2 separate regions of the Homo sapiens genome follow, and region 2 is linked to region 1. The links are contacts of gene promoters, found by promoter capture Hi-C in blood cells and fetal thymus (Javierre and others, 2016). All regions are on one chromosome and are shown on one strand. Each heading gives the region's core, a stretch centred on a gene start or on the middle of the fragment in contact. The rest is flanking DNA. Distances are from core to core; before and after follow the strand shown.

Region 1 (5,572 bases), core at 3,033-5,532:
TAGTTCCGCTCATGCACATAGTTCTGATTCTCCTCTCCTCCTCCCTCCACTCTGGGCAGATGCACAGATAGCCATGATGCAGCAGCGCATTGACCGCCTAGCCCTGCTGAATGAGAAGCAGGCGGCCAGCCCACTGGAGCCCAAGGAGCTTGAGGAGCTGCGTGACAAGAATGAGAGGTACAGCTCTCCCTGCATTCCTTCCCAGGCCCCAGCCCCTCCCCTCACCCAGCCAGGAACCCATACTCTCTTCTCACTGCTTCCCTCCCTCGCAGCCTTACCATGCGGCTGCATGAAACCCTGAAGCAGTGCCAGGACCTGAAGACAGAGAAGAGCCAGATGGATCGCAAAATCAACCAGCTTTCGGAGGAGAATGGAGACCTTTCCTTTAAGGTGGGTGTTAAGGTGGTGTGTGCATGGAGGCCCCTCAGGGCTGAGGTGGTCTGGAAGGCTCCCCAAGAGAGGGTTGAGAAGAATGTCCCAGCACCTGTCTTATGCTTCAGTCTCTCCAGAGACCTGCATATTTTGCCCCTTTCCTTATCCCATAATTGGCGGCTTCCCGGGTACTGGGCTGTGACCCTAAATGTTGATTTGTAGTTCTGAATTAGAGGTGTGATGGCTGTGATTGGTTTGTAGAGGGTTGGCAGGATAATTGGAGGCATCCAGCCCCTGGGGTTCTGGGAGCAGACAGCAGTGGTGGGGTCAGCGTTGACTCTGGGTGATGGGGATTCTCACTTGCCCGTCTCAGCTGCGGGAGTTTGCCAGTCATCTGCAGCAGCTACAGGATGCCCTCAATGAGCTGACGGAGGAGCACAGCAAGGCCACTCAGGAGTGGCTAGAGAAGCAGGCCCAGCTGGAGAAGGAGCTCAGCGCAGCCCTGCAGGACAAGGTAACCCTCTGCTGGGGTCACAGCCACAGTCTTGACCACATGTGCAAAGCTGAGTCCAGTTTACCACTGTGCTCTTCTGGGCCTTTGGGTATTAAGTTGCTTTCTCTTCAAGGTTCAATAGTGTGCTGTAATTGAAAGATTGTGGGCTTCAGTCTAGTACACCTTTTTTTTTTAACTTATTTTTTTTTTCCCCAGTCAATGCCCTCACTTTATAGTACACCTTTCAATCCTATCTCTGCTGTTCACAAGATGTGGATCTTGGACAAGTTAATCAGTCTGTTTTTCTAAGCATCCTTTCCCTAAAATGGGAGTAGTAACGAGTAGCTGCCTCATCACCTATTATGAGAAAACGTATGTAAAGCACTTCACACATCGTGTAGTGTAAAGTAAGCTCTCAGTGAACCAGTTGTGATTGTTACTATTGGTAAGAACCCAATTTGGCCACTTACTAATAACCATGTAGCCCTTGATCAAGGCACTTAGCATCTGCTTCAGGTTCTTGCTCTGTAAGAGGAATGGTAGTAGCTGCCTCCCACATAAGCTGGGTGTGGTGATGCATGCCTGTAGTCCCAGCTACTCGGGAGGCTGAGACAGAAGAAGCTCTCGAATCTGGGAGGTGGAGGTTGCAGTAAGCCAAGATCTCGCCACTGCACTCCAGCCTAGGCGATAGAGCGAGACTCTGTCTCAAAAAAAAAAAAAAAAAAAAAAAAATTAGGGATGAACCCAGCATAGCCTATTGTAGGTGCTTAGTGAACAGTGGTGAAGAAGTGGGTTTGGGACTGGGGGTTGCTGCAGCTGCTGCCAGTGGTATTGCTGCCCAGAGGATGGTGGGCAGCTGGTGGTGATTTGGATAATCTAGGACTCAAGACTTATCTGAGGAAGGGTATACGGTAAGGAAATTTGAAGTAAACTCAGCAGCCTTGGGGAAGTAGTAAGCAGGTTACATTATGACTTTATTGTGCCTTAGAACTAGGTCTAGAGAATCAGGTCCCTCATGCTCCCAGTTCCATGGTTTCTGCTTTTTTCTAGGCCAGGGCAAAAGGAGATCTTGGTAACAAGATGATGGGCCCCATGTTTGCTGATGTTTATGAGGGCTTGTGTGGTAATCTGGTGCCTGTTCCCCCTCTCTGTTCACATGGGTCTCATTTACTCCCAGAAATGCCTTGAAGAGAAGAACGAAATCCTTCAGGGAAAACTTTCACAGCTGGAAGAACACTTGTCCCAGCTGCAGGATAACCCACCCCAGGAGAAGGGCGAGGTGCTGGGTGATGTCTTGCAGGTAGGAATGCACAGAAAGACCTGTGTGCTGCTGGTTGGTGTGGACTCACATTCAGTACATTTGGGTTCCTGGTGTTCCTCCATTTCCAGAGGAGTCTTGATGACTGAGGAGTCATGCTGATCCCAGTTTGTCTCTTTATACCACCAGCTGGAAACCTTGAAGCAAGAGGCAGCCACTCTTGCTGCAAACAACACACAGCTCCAAGCCAGGGTAGAGATGCTGGAGACTGAGCGAGGCCAGCAGGAAGCCAAGCTGCTTGCTGAGCGGGGCCACTTCGAAGAAGAAAAGCAGCAGCTGTCTAGCCTGATCACTGACCTGCAGAGCTCCATCTCCAACCTCAGCCAGGCCAAGGAAGAGCTGGAGCAGGCCTCCCAGGCTCATGGGGCCCGGTTGACTGCCCAGGTGGCCTCTCTGACCTCTGAGCTCACCACACTCAATGCCACCATCCAGCAACAGGATCAAGAACTGGCTGGCCTGAAGCAGCAGGCCAAAGAGAAGCAGGCCCAGCTAGCACAGACCCTCCAACAGCAAGAACAGGCCTCCCAGGGCCTCCGCCACCAGGTGGAGCAGCTAAGCAGTAGCCTGAAGCAGAAGGAGCAGCAGTTGAAGGAGGTAGCGGAGAAGCAGGAGGCAACTAGGCAGGACCATGCCCAGCAACTGGCCACTGCTGCAGAGGAGCGAGAGGCCTCCTTAAGGGAGCGGGATGCGGCTCTCAAGCAGCTGGAGGCACTGGAGAAGGAGAAGGCTGCCAAGCTGGAGATTCTGCAGCAGCAACTTCAGGTGGCTAATGAAGCCCGGGACAGTGCCCAGACCTCAGTGACACAGGCCCAGCGGGAGAAGGCAGAGCTGAGCCGGAAGGTGGAGGAACTCCAGGCCTGTGTTGAGACAGCCCGCCAGGAACAGCATGAGGCCCAGGCCCAGGTTGCAGAGCTAGAGTTGCAGCTGCGGTCTGAGCAGCAAAAAGCAACTGAGAAAGAAAGGGTGGCCCAGGAGAAGGACCAGCTCCAGGAGCAGCTCCAGGCCCTCAAAGAGTCCTTGAAGGTCACCAAGGGCAGCCTTGAAGAGGAGAAGCGCAGGGCTGCAGATGCCCTGGAAGAGCAGCAGCGTTGTATCTCTGAGCTGAAGGCAGAGACCCGAAGCCTGGTGGAGCAGCATAAGCGGGAACGAAAGGAGCTGGAAGAAGAGAGGGCTGGGCGCAAGGGGCTGGAGGCTCGATTACAGCAGCTTGGGGAGGCCCATCAGGCTGAGACTGAAGTCCTGCGGCGGGAGCTGGCAGAGGCCATGGCTGCCCAGCACACAGCTGAGAGTGAGTGTGAGCAGCTCGTCAAAGAAGTAGCTGCCTGGCGTGAGCGGTATGAGGATAGCCAGCAAGAGGAGGCACAGTATGGCGCCATGTTCCAGGAACAGCTGATGACTTTGAAGGAGGAATGTGAGAAGGCCCGCCAGGAGCTGCAGGAGGCAAAGGAGAAGGTGGCAGGCATAGAATCCCACAGCGAGCTCCAGATAAGCCGGCAGCAGAACGAACTAGCTGAGCTCCATGCCAACCTGGCCAGAGCACTCCAGCAGGTCCAAGAGAAGGAAGTCAGGGCCCAGAAGCTTGCAGATGACCTCTCCACTCTGCAGGAAAAGATGGCTGCCACCAGCAAAGAGGTGGCCCGCTTGGAGACCTTGGTGCGCAAGGCAGGTGAGCAGCAGGAAACAGCCTCCCGGGAGTTAGTCAAGGAGCCTGCGAGGGCAGGAGACAGACAGCCCGAGTGGCTGGAAGAGCAACAGGGACGCCAGTTCTGCAGCACACAGGCAGCGCTGCAGGCTATGGAGCGGGAGGCAGAGCAGATGGGCAATGAGCTGGAACGGCTGCGGGCCGCGCTGATGGAGAGCCAGGGGCAGCAGCAGGAGGAGCGTGGGCAGCAGGAAAGGGAGGTGGCGCGGCTGACCCAGGAGCGGGGCCGTGCCCAGGCTGACCTTGCCCTGGAGAAGGCGGCCAGAGCAGAGCTTGAGATGCGGCTGCAGAACGCCCTCAACGAGCAGCGTGTGGAGTTCGCTACCCTGCAAGAGGCACTGGCTCATGCCCTGACGGAAAAGGAAGGCAAGGACCAGGAGTTGGCCAAGCTTCGTGGTCTGGAGGCAGCCCAGATAAAAGAGCTGGAGGAACTTCGGCAAACCGTGAAGCAACTGAAGGAACAGCTGGCTAAGAAAGAAAAGGAGCACGCATCTGGCTCAGGAGCCCAATCTGAGGCTGCTGGCAGGACAGAGCCAACAGGCCCCAAGCTGGAGGCACTGCGGGCAGAGGTGAGCAAGCTGGAACAGCAATGCCAGAAGCAGCAGGAGCAGGCTGACAGCCTGGAACGCAGCCTCGAGGCTGAGCGGGCCTCCCGGGCTGAGCGGGACAGTGCTCTGGAGACTCTGCAGGGCCAGTTAGAGGAGAAGGCCCAGGAGCTAGGGCACAGTCAGAGTGCCTTAGCCTCGGCCCAACGGGAGTTGGCTGCCTTCCGCACCAAGGTACAAGACCACAGCAAGGCTGAAGATGAGTGGAAGGCCCAGGTGGCCCGGGGCCGGCAAGAGGCTGAGAGGAAAAATAGCCTCATCAGCAGCTTGGAGGAGGAGGTGTCCATCCTGAATCGCCAGGTCCTGGAGAAGGAGGGGGAGAGCAAGGAGTTGAAGCGGCTGGTGATGGCCGAGTCAGAGAAGAGCCAGAAGCTGGAGGAGAGGCTGCGCCTGCTGCAGGCAGAGACAGCCAGCAACAGTGCCAGAGCTGCAGAACGCAGCTCTGCTCTGCGGGAGGAGGTGCAGAGCCTCCGGGAGGAGGCTGAGAAACAGCGGGTGGCTTCAGAGAACCTGCGGCAGGAGCTGACCTCACAGGCTGAGCGTGCGGAGGAGCTGGGCCAAGAATTGAAGGCGTGGCAGGAGAAGTTCTTCCAGAAAGAGCAGGCCCTCTCCACCCTGCAGCTCGAGCACACCAGCACACAGGCCCTGGTGAGTGAGCTGCTGCCAGCTAAGCACCTCTGCCAGCAGCTGCAGGCCGAGCAGGCCGCTGCCGAGAAACGCCACCGTGAGGAGCTGGAGCAGAGCAAGCAGGCCGCTGGGGGACTGCGGGCAGAGCTGCTGCGGGCCCAGCGGGAGCTTGGGGAGCTGATTCCTCTGCGGCAGAAGGTGGCAGAGCAGGAGCGAACAGCTCAGCAGCTGCGGGCAGAGAAGGCCAGCTATGCAGAGCAGCTGAGCATGCTGAAGAAGGCGCATGGCCTGCTGGCAGAGGAGAACCGGGGGCTGGGTGAGCGGGCCAACCTTGGCCGGCAGTTTCTGGAAGTGGAGTTGGACCAGGCCCGGGAGAAGTATGTCCAAGAGTTGGCAGCCGTACGTGCTGATGCTGAGACCCGTCTGGCTGAGGTGCAGCGAGAAGCACAGAGCAC
Region 2 (5,188 bases), core at 2,616-5,115, 82 kb before region 1:
TTTGCAGCTGATGGTCTCAAGGCAGGGTCAAATCCAGAAATATTACAGTAGATAGAACAGGGGACTGAAAGAGGACAAGGAGGAAGACCAAACCAATGAGGAAGCTTGGTTTGGTCTTACATTAGTTCAGGGGTTGTGATTATCAGCACAGGCCAGCAGGAACAGGGCTGCTGAAAATTTACATGGGCTACTCAGGTGGTTTAGCAAGGGAGGGAACAGCGCCATTGTTGTTTGTTTTGAGATGGGGTCTTGCTCTCTTGCCCAGACTGGAGTACAGTGGCACAGTCCTAGCTCACTGCAGCCTCAAACCCTGGGTTCATACAGTCGTTGCACTTCAGCCTCCCAAGTAGGTGGGACTGCAGGGCTCACACTACCAAGTCCAGCTAATTTTTTTTTTTTGCAAAGACGAGGTCTTGCTTTGTTGCCCAGGCTGGTCTCAAACTCCTGGACTCAAGCAATCCTTCTGCCTTGGGCTCCCAAAGTGTTGGGATTACTGGTGTGAATCACCATACATGGCTACAGCTGTACTGCTCAGATCAGGATACACCATGTACACTCAGTTTGGTTCTGGGAGTCACGTACAAAAAGAGCACCAGAGCACAGGAGGGTGAACACCTTCGAAGGGACCTGCCTTCAAGAAGGGAACACACTTGTACTGTGTGACCCAGAGCTGGGCTGGGATTCCTGCCCTGACATAATTTGAGAAATGGCCATGGAGAGGTTGGGCTTGCTTTCTCTTGGGGCCTAGGGCTTTGTCTGGACTCGCCAGGGCTTCCATCTTGGAAGCGAACAGCTTTGCTGGGGAAGGCCTGGTCCTAGGGGATGAGGAAGGCTGTTCTTGGGCTCTTGACTTGCACTGATTTCCCCTTTAGATCCCAGTGCTTGCTATGTCTCAGCTCCACTGTCTTCCAGCCTCTAGTATCCTTTCTTTGCCAGGTCCTAGAATGTTTTTCAAGCTCCAGGGCTGTTGCTGACTACCTGCTTTGTGCCTCTGTCCATTTTTTCAGGGCCTCTAGGACTGCCTGGTTCCACTCTCATTTATCCTAGAACACCAACTCAGTTGAGCTCCCAAGGATAGGCAGGAACTGAGTCTTATCTGGCATTCCATAAAGCTGGGCACTTTAGATATTCCTTATAGAAACATTTTTGGTGTTTAAGGTCAGAGCTGGGCTAAGGGTAGCACCCGTGAAAGGCAGGATCTACGGGTCCTGGGGCTGACTTCTCTCCCATGACCACTTCTAGGACCGAGAGGAGCGGAAGCTGCTGCTGGACCCTAGCAGCCCCCCTACCAAAGCTCTCAATGGAGCCGAGCCCAACTACCACAGCCTGCCTTCCGCTCGCACTGATGAGCAGGCCCTGCTCTCTTCCATCCTTGCCAAGACAGCCAGGTAAGTGTCAGAGGACCAGGCCTGGGTCAGAGCTCCTCTATCCATATTAAAGGCTAGGATAGAAGGAGCCAGGCTCAGGACATGGGGGATGGGACAAGGTCACTGGGGAGAGGTGCCTCCATGTCCAGCCCTGCTCCAGTAGGCAGGAGGGAAACTGGTGTCAGATAGCCCTGGAGTTGGTACCTGGCACTGAGTCCTGTTTGTCCTTCTCGGAAGCACCTGTCATGTCATCTCTGTCTCCTCTCCCCATAGCAACATCATTGATGTGTCTGCTGCAGACTCACAGGGCATGGAGCAGCATGAGTACATGGACCGTGCCAGGCAGTACAGGTGAGCACCTGGCCAGCGTGGGTCCCTCAGGCTACTTGGGCTCCCACCCTCCATCACTGTTCCAGCTTTGGAGCCTGGCCCCTAGTCCAAGCTTCTCATTTGGTGCAGCCCTGGAGACTGACCACAGATCACTTGGGTGCTTCAGTAGTTATTCATGTCAGCCCTGTTTACCCTGTGACACTCTTGAGGGCGCTGAGGCCAAGGGAGATGGGCCTAGATTGAGTCTGTGATGAGCTGAGACCTTCCCTCCCAGATACCCCTCCTCGACACCCTGCTTCTCTGGCCTGAGGGGATGAGGCTTACCTGGGCTGGGCAGGGCAGACTGTGGCTTAACTGCCTACCCCCACCCCCTCTCTCTTGGTCAGCACCCGCTTGGCTGTGCTGAGCAGCAGCCTGACCCATTGGAAGAAGCTGCCACCGCTGCCGTCTCTTACCAGCCAGCCCCACCAAGTGCTGGCCAGTGAGCCCATCCCGTTCTCTGATTTGCAGCAGGTGAGACACCCCTCACCTGCCCCTGCCCACCCTTCTCACACTGCCCAGGGTATGGCAGAGGGTTCACCCACTCTGCCTCAGAGGAGGTAGGGAAGGTGGAGTTAGGGAGCCTGGTAGCCTTGTAGGCCCCAGCTCCCTCCCACCTCGTTCTCTTAACTTTTTATGTCTTTCCTATCTCCTTCCTGCAACCTTTATTGTTTCACTCCCCTTTGTTCTTTTCCTTCTGTCTCTCCCATCCCTGTCTTTCTCTTTGCCTTCCTGTTCCCCTTCATTCCCTCCTTCTCCATCACCATCTAATCTCCCCTCCCCATTTTTCCTGATTGCCCTCCTCACCTGTCTCTGTTCCTCTCCTCCCCGGCCCCTCTCTGTCTCAGGTCTCCAGGATAGCTGCTTATGCCTACAGTGCACTTTCTCAGATCCGTGTGGACGCAAAAGAGGAGCTGGTTGTACAGTTTGGGATCCCATGAAGAGAGGGGTCCTTGGACAGCTCTTCTCCTCTCTTCATCCCATCTCTACCCCACCCCCTTGGCCCCCAGCCTCACTGCGGCTTATACAGTACCCTAACCTGCTACTAATCACAGAGAAAAATGTGAAGAAGGAGGAGAAGAGGAAGGCTAGAAGCCTGAGCAAGTGAGGGTAGAACCTTTTGGGACTGGCCTTTGAAGCTCTGGCCAGGGATGGGGTGGGGGCCAAAAGGACAGAGCCTGGTATGTCTTCATAGTCATTGAGAATGTGGAGATACCAGTTTGGGTGGGGGGTGATCACCAGGGGACCTAGGGAGATCCCCTTCCCACCCTCTCTGTTGGCCTCAGAGTCACTCCTGCCCCCTCTCCCTGACTTGGTGCTCACATGCACCTCACTAGGGTTTGTGACCAGGGTCTGGATGAGCTTGAATTTGAATGAATTGAGTTTGTATTTCTAGAACCCTGGGTTTTTACATGTTTGGTCTTTTTTTGTTTTGGTTTGTCACCCTCGATAAAGGAAGTATATTCATCCATGTGCTGGTTCTGGCCCCTCTGTTCTACCCATTCTACTTTTGATTACTTAGGTCTATGAGAGTAAGATGGGGGGAAGGGGACATCTTCCAGGGATATTGAAGATGAACCCAAGAGACAAGGGTTTAGGGTGTCAGCTCTTAGCTGAGACCTGGCTTGGGCTAACCTCAGACTGGATGAGACTGTTCTTGTCCCTTGTCCAGTGATGATGGGAACACTGTCAAAGCTGAACAGACCTGAATCTGAGGCAGCTTTGATTCTTGGGGGCCCTGCCTCAGACTCAATGGAATTACCAACAGCCCCTGGGGGTGAAGGGAGACATGGCGGGTTGGGGGGTGGAGAGAGAAAGCAGACCAGGCTCTTCTGGGAATACCTAATATGGAGTCAGCAAGCAAATGTTTTTAAGCAGAAGATTCTTTTTATCAAATGAAATCTTAAGCAGAATCCCAGCATATAAAACAGAATGGAATTACTTTGATCTGATTGAAGTGGGGGCTGGTTTCAGAGATCATAGGCCATCTTCTTGGCCTGTCATGGAGGCCTGTGAGGCATCTCTACAGACCCTGGTACTCTGTGAAGAGTTTGGAAATTACTGATCTACTTTAACCCCCAAATCTCTAAGCTGAAAAGTACAAAGGGGCCCAGAGAGTTAGATAAATTTCCCAAGGCTGTGTGGTAAACCCACGTCTCCAGTGTCCCAGGCCAGCAGGCCTTTCCCTCAATTGCCTCCCTTTTTCAGCAAAATAAGACTAGAGCTGGCCAGGTGCAGTGGCTTATCCTGTAATCCTAGCACTTTGGGAGGCTGAGGTGGGCAGATCACCTGAGGTCAGGAGTTTGAGACCAGCCTGGCCAACATGGCGAAACCCCATCTCTACTAAAAATACAAAAAAAGGCTGGGCGTGGTGGCTCACGCTTCTAATCCCAGCACTTTGGGAGGCCAAAGCAGACGGATCACCTGAGGTCAGGAGTTCAAGACCAGCCTGGCCAACATGGCGAAACCTTGTCTCTACTAAAATATAAAAAATTAGCTGGGGGAAGCCGAGGTGGGTGGATCACAAGGTCAGGAGATGGAGACCATCCTGGCTAACATGGTGAAACCCCGTCTCTACTAAAAATACAAAAAATTAGCCAGGCGTGGTAGTAGGTGCCTATAGTCCCAGCTACTTGGGAGGCTGAGGCAGGAGAATGGCGTGAACCTGGAAGGCGGAGTTTGCAGTGAGCCGAGATCGTGCCACTGCACTCCAGCCTGGGTGACAGAGCGAGACTCCGTCTCAAAAAAAAAAATTAGCTGGATGTGGTAGCAGGCGCCTGTAATCCCAGCTACTCAGGAGGCTGAGGCAGGAGAATCGCTTGAACCCAGCAGGCGGAGGTTGCAGTGAGCTGAGATCGCACCACTGCACTCCAGCTGGGGTGACGAGTGAAACCGTCTCAAAACAACAACAACAACAACAAAATTAGCCAGTCATGGTGGCAGGCGCCTTTAATCACAGCTACTGGGGAGGCTGAGGCAGGAGAATCTCTTGAACCTGGGAGGCTGAGGTTGCAGTGAGCCAAGATCGTGCCACTGCACTCCAGCCTGTGTGACAGAGTGAGACTCCGTCTCAAAAAAAAAAAAAAGAAAAGAAAAGGCTAGAGCTACTTGCAGTTGCCTGAGTTAGAGAACATCTCTACAAGGTGTAAGTGACTTCTCATCTGCTCAACAGCTCAAATTATTTATTGTCAAACCATGCTGTCTATGCTTAGGCCTTTAGGACTACTAGGGTCGTGGGAGCCTCAAAGTGTATTCTGCTTGGTCCAGGCCTTCTTGGGCTTGATGTTCATGCGTTTCCAGACTTCAGCTGTGGTGCGGTCTGCTTTGGTGACCCCACTGAAGTCGAACGTGGTGATACGGGACAGGGTGCACAGCACATATTGCCTGTGGGGAAGACTTAGGCTGGGGGCCAGCACCCCCACCAGAATCCCCTTCCCCCTCCACTAGTTGCT

Evidence for each region. The method cuts DNA at HindIII sites, captures the fragments that hold promoters and counts their contacts. A CHiCAGO score of 5 or more calls a contact.
Region 2: a fragment that was not itself captured here is called in contact with the fragment with the promoter of NUMA1-AS1 in region 1 in 10 of 17 cell types (endothelial precursors, naive CD4 T cells, non-activated CD4 T cells and 7 more); the score reaches 13.1 in endothelial precursors.

The regions. Positions count from the first base shown.
Region 1 is chr11:72,013,001-72,018,572 of GRCh38, reverse strand. NUMA1-AS1 (NUMA1 antisense RNA 1) reads right to left here and starts at 4,282. Exons shown (of 4, transcript NR_104178.2): 1 at 1,686-4,282; 2 at 279-1,214. It overlaps NUMA1 (nuclear mitotic apparatus protein 1), which reads left to right. Exons shown (of 27, transcript NM_006185.4): 11 at 60-177; 12 at 273-390; 13 at 746-886; 14 at 2,043-2,165; 15 at 2,313-5,572. RefSeq lists enhancers at 1-724, 2,881-3,628. The HindIII fragment of the contact is 6,447 bases long and covers 4,277-5,572 here.
Region 2 is chr11:72,095,311-72,100,498 of GRCh38, reverse strand. The region is part of intron 5 of LRTOMT (leucine rich transmembrane and O-methyltransferase domain containing); the gene reads right to left. It overlaps LRRC51 (leucine rich repeat containing 51), which reads right to left. Exons shown (of 6, transcript NM_145309.6): 6 at 3,604-5,120. The coding sequence ends at 4,979. It overlaps LAMTOR1 (late endosomal/lysosomal adaptor, MAPK and MTOR activator 1), which reads left to right. Exons shown (of 5, transcript NM_017907.3): 2 at 1,243-1,388; 3 at 1,641-1,718; 4 at 2,084-2,210; 5 at 2,585-3,207. The coding sequence ends at 2,677. Among named protein-coding and RNA genes, the nearest start is that of LAMTOR1, 5.4 kb to the left of the region's middle. The HindIII fragment of the contact is 4,108 bases long and covers 1,812-5,188 here.